2 separate regions of the Homo sapiens genome follow, and region 2 is linked to region 1. Evidence: promoter capture Hi-C in 16 types of primary human blood cells and fetal thymus (Javierre and others, 2016). All regions are on one chromosome and are shown on one strand. Each heading gives the region's core, a stretch centred on a gene start or on the middle of the fragment in contact. The rest is flanking DNA. Distances are from core to core; before and after follow the strand shown. Region 1 holds the start of GPRIN3 (GPRIN family member 3). Region 2 overlaps GPRIN3 (GPRIN family member 3).

Region 1 (2,545 bases), core at 27-2,526:
CATAGTCCAATGGATCTTTAAACAAATGTGTTGTGAAAATATTTAGATGGAGCATACCCAAGTACCGCTTTAACCAAGAGGAAGAAGACACCTTACTCAAAGGTGGGTGCTTCTTGAGTGACTGCTCAGAGCTCTGTTTCTCCCCTCCCCCTCCAAGCCCTTGCCTTTTGCCCACCTCCTCGGCTGCTTTGTGGACATTCACATCGTCTTAACCTTGAACTGCCTACACCCCAAGCGGTGATTTCTCCCAATGGCCCTCCAGAAAGCCCTTGAAACCTGGTCTGGATTCGATGCCTTCCCATCACCCAAAATTCACTTCCCAGTGGCATATTAAGTACCTCTCCTTTTTTCCCTCTTTCACTGTCCATTATTGCGTCTGAAATGATGCCTACATCGTTTCCATCTGCCTGGAGAGCATGAAGATCTTCTGTGTGTGTTGGCTGACAGGCTCCTTCAGACCTCTTCTAAAGCCCATCTTGAAAGAACCGTTTATCACCTCTAGTCTCTACCCTGATTTAATGTGGTTCCAAAGTTCGCCTCTATTAGTGAACATGTCTCTACAACGATTTCCCTTTATCAACCCCTGCCCGCCCTTCCTCTTCTTTCTGCCTACCTCAAGAAAACCTATTTACATATGCATTTATGTATGTGTGTGTATATACACACACATACATACATCCATATGTAATATATATTTCTATGTTTTGACCTTAAAGGGGATAAGCATAGGAAAATGAGACAAATGTCACACACACACACACACACACACACACACCCCTCATATTCGGATATTCGCAGTGTGCAGACCCGATTGATTATAAATTTCCCTGCCCACGATCAGCAGGCGTCTTCTCCCATTTACCTTCAAAGCCAGAGCCAAAGAGAGCAATGACCTTGCAGAGAAATTCATCACCTGCGAGAAAGACTGCCCCTCCTAGAGCGCAGGATGGGACAGAGACAAGAGCAACAGGCAAAGGATCCCTGTGCAAAATGTGGGACCGAATCCCTTCCGCATCCCTACAGAGCACACCACCAGGCTCCGGTCCCCCGCGCTGGCCGCCAGGCGGAGGTGCGCAGGGGGCGTCTCCTACCTGCTCTGCCCGGCTCCGCGGCGCGGCGGGGCCACTGCCTGCGCTGTGGCGGGGGCTTCCCGTCGCATATCCCAAGCACCGTCTCTCGGCGCCACACCGATGGCTCCGGCGGGCCCGCGAGCTGAGGTCCTTCTCAGCCCGGTCCCGGAGCGAGCTCCGTGCGTTCAGGAACTGAAATTACTATGCCAAGAGCAGAGGCGGCGCGCAGCAGTCGGGCGTAGACCGAGGGGGCTGCCCCCACCGCGGGGCTGCAGACGCCGCCGCCGCCCCCGCCGGGCGCAGAGCCAGTTTGGAGGTGAGAGTTCACTTGCCCGACTGTTCATCCGTCAGGCCCGGGGTGTACCCATCTGTCCAGCGCTGCCCAGCCTGAGCATCCGAGAGAGGGGCGACAGCTTTGCAGGCGGCGGCGGCGGCAGCAGCAGCGGCGGCAGCAGGAGGCCGAGCTCCGCCCCCTCCAAACCCCCTCCCCCGCCTTCCCGGTCCTGGGGGAAAGTGTTGCAGCCCAGGCTGCTGAGCGCCGGGCCGGGAGCTAGGAGGGGTCTGGTGGGTTGTGGTTCTGCACCCCTGGAGACCAGAGACAGATGGAAAGTTAAGAAGGGATTAAGGAAGAGGGCTGGGGACCCAGAGCGATTTAGCAGGCATTCTGGCCCTTGCTCCCTCCCACAGGTCACCAGACTCCATGGCTGAGTCTAGACTCTAGCAGAAGGTTTCCAATAAAGCCACGTGCAGTGGAGATCTGAAAGCAAGATCATCCGATAAGTAATATGTTTTGCAAAATGTACAGTATCCTGCGTATTCGGAGAGGCACTGCTGACAGTGTTCCTGTCCCCATCCCCTTCCCGCTACCCCATGGGCTTGGAGGGCTTTGAGGGCTTTGGAAATCTTCCCTGTTGAGCAGCTCCAGAATCCTGAATGGATGTGTAGTATGGTTAGCAGCTGTAGATGGTGCAAAATGATACGATGAAAAGAGCTTCATTATTAACTGGGTATTTGTTGGAAGGCTCTGTGAAAAATGCCTTACATACAGCCTCAGCCTCTTTAATTCTTACTACAACCCATTGAGGTGCCTTACCATGTGGACGAGGAAACAGGCTTATATGATCTAAACACTTTGCTTGAGGTCACACAGTAGTAACCTGCTCAGCTGGGATTCAAACCAATCCAAAATATATCCTCTCATCTAGTACACAGGACTCACCTAGGGGGTCTTGTTAAAATGCTGATTGTGATCCAATAGGTCTGGGGTAGGGACTGAGGAAACGCTTTTTTAGTTTTTTGTTGTTGTTGTTTTTTGTTTTTTGCTTCGTCTCCTAGGCTGGAGTGCAGTGGCGCGCTCTCGGCTCACTGCAAGCTCCGCTTCCCGGGGTCAAGCGATTCTCCTGCCTCAGCCTCCCAAGTAGCTGGGATTACAGGCGCCCACCACCACGCCCGGCTAATTTTTGTATTTTTAGTAG
Region 2 (2,545 bases), core at 24-2,523, 45 kb before region 1:
TAATCTAGGGTAGAGTTTCTCACCCTGGAACTATCGACATTTTGGACCAGATAGCTTGTAGTGGGGAAGGGAAGAAAGGAGGATTGTCCTATGCACAGTAGGATGTTTAGCAGCGCAATGCTGGCCTCCGCTCCCCAGATCCCAGTAGTGCCCCTACTTCCAGCTGTGACAATAAAAAATGTCTCCAGACATTTCTGGGAGGACGTAATTGTCCCTGATTGAAAGAACCACTGATCCAGGAGGTGAGCATATTTACCTTTGATAGACAGAAATCTCCTTAGAATGAATGCCTGTGAGTTGATGTAAGATAACTTATTCCAGCTGGATATGACTTAATGATATAGTTTTCGGCTCTCAAGTCAAAGAGAGCACTTCTCATACTCTACCTGTGAGAATGCAAGTTAGTATAATTCCTATAAGGAACAATTTGGCAATGTTTATCAAAAATGCCAGTTTGTATACACTGACTCTGCAATTCCACCTCAGGTACTAATGTTGTAAGTAAACTAAATAAATGTGCTAATTGATATATGCACAAGGTTTTTCACTACATGAAATAACAACAGATTAGAAGCAATTTAAATGTCCATTAATAAGAAGTTAGTTATAAAAATTATGCTATTTTGATGAAATGAATACTAAGCAGCCATACTCAGTAACGAGGAAGCTCTTTAAGAATTGATATGGGGCTGGGTGAGGTGGCTCCAGCTGTAATTCTAGGACTTCGGGAGGCTGTAGGGGGGTGGATAGCCTGAGCTTAGGAGTTCAAGACCAGCCTGGGCAACATGGTGAAACCCCGTCTCTACTAAAAATACACACACACACACAAATTAGCCTGGCATGGTGGCACGCGCCTGTGGTCCCAGCTACTTGGTTAGGAGGCTGAGGTGGTGGAACTGCTTGAGCCTGGGAGGCAGAGGTTGCAGTGAGTTGAGATGCTGCCACTGCACTCCAGCCTAGATGACGGAGTGAGACCCAGTCTCAAAAAAAAAAAAAAAAAAAGAATTGATATGGAATAATCTCCAAAATACATTTTTAAGTAAAACAGCAACTAAAACAAAACAAAAATCCAATAATAATAATAAAATTTCAAGATACTGGCATATTTTGTATGCTACCATTTGTATTAAGAAGAGAAAAATGAGTATCTTTGCTTGTAGACATATAAAATATTGCTGCAAGGATAAATAAAAAATTGCTATCAGAGAAGGAAGATGGTGCTTGGGGGACAGAATGGATGGAACATTTTTCGCTTAGTATCCTTTTGTATTTTTGGAATTTTAAACTATATGAACTTATTACCTACTCAAAAATAATAAAAAAAATGTAAGGCCTGGTGCTCCTCACCTAGGCAAAACTGAGCAAGCATGCACGCTGACGTTTCTGTCAGTGATGATGGATTCGTGCTGGTCTACGCTTCAACACCCTTTCCATCTGCTCTTTGCTGTGCAGGGAGGTCAGCCTGGCCATGCAACTAAGGAAACCATAATTTTCTTATCCATCTTGGTTATCTAAAAGCTCCAAGCTGGGCAATGTGAGTAGTTTTCAAAGTCAACAGCTGAGAAATGCTTTTTAAAGTAATGTCTGTTAGGCCACAAAATAAAAGTTTACTTAAGTTACTTTTCCCAGACTTTCTGACTCCTGTTTATTAGTTGATTTCTCTGCCCTGCCCACCCTCCGCCATCCCCCTACTTTCCTATTCCTGGTAGCTCTAGCAGTTGGTTTTCAAATCATACATTCCTCAAACAATAAATCCAAAGATGACCTAAGACAAACAACTACGAAATTAAGTCAAAACATCAATAAAAGTGATTAAGAAAAAAATGCATTTATTTTTATTTCTCTAGTCTATATTTTGGGAATTGACTAAATGTCAACATACAAAATTTAGAAAACATATTTTAATTGCCAGTTATCAAATCCACGTCTTCTGTCAGTACTGGGCTTAACTGAATTTATCATATCTCATGAAAGCACAATATTATACTAACTGGTCTCATTCAGTCAATGCTAAACACTTACCCGCCACTTGCTGCTAATGTTACCTTTGTAAAACAAACAAATATGCCACTTCTCTGTGCATAAAAAATTTTAATCGTTCCCCATTCACCTACAAAATAAGATGTATACATTTGGGCACAATTTAAAAAAATGTCCTTCACTATCTGATCCATTTCATTTTCTGATTGGTATGTTCTCTTATTGAGATAGCCAGGTGGGAGGGGGTCCCCGGAGAATCTCCATCCAGCCTGTGCACTGGCGGGAATGTGCACTGGGGTGGAGGCCCAGGAAGTCTGCACCATTTGCTGCAGGGAGGAGCCTGGCCCCTCCTCTTCCTGTGTGAAACCTGGGATTCAAATGGCCAGGCAGGAAGCACTGTAGCAGGGACTCAGGCCTTTGGAGTGTCCCTGTTTCCCCTTCTTCCTTTTCACTCAATAAAACCCTGTATTACTAACCATTCAAATTGCCTGTGAGCCTGAATTTTCGTGGCTGTAGGACAAAGTACCCCATCTTTAGCTGAACTAAGGAAAAGTCCTGCAGCATT

The links. Contacts are between HindIII fragments. The CHiCAGO score rates a contact against its expected background, and 5 or more counts as called.
Region 2: a contact is called between a fragment that was not itself captured here and the fragment with the promoter of GPRIN3 in region 1, in 5 of 17 cell types (naive CD8 T cells, non-activated CD4 T cells, activated CD4 T cells and 2 more). The highest score is 7.6, in naive CD8 T cells.

Annotation. Positions count from the first base shown.
Region 1 is chr4:89,306,524-89,309,068 of GRCh38, forward strand. GPRIN3 (GPRIN family member 3) reads right to left here and starts at 1,277. Exons shown (of 2, transcript NM_198281.3): 1 at 1,092-1,277. RefSeq lists silencers at 1,227-1,276, 1,287-1,356. The HindIII fragment of the contact is 16,857 bases long and covers 1-2,545 here.
Region 2 is chr4:89,261,143-89,263,687 of GRCh38, forward strand. The region is part of intron 1 of GPRIN3 (GPRIN family member 3); the gene reads right to left. Among named protein-coding and RNA genes, the nearest start is that of GPRIN3, 45 kb to the right of the region's middle. The HindIII fragment of the contact is 2,635 bases long and covers 1-2,545 here.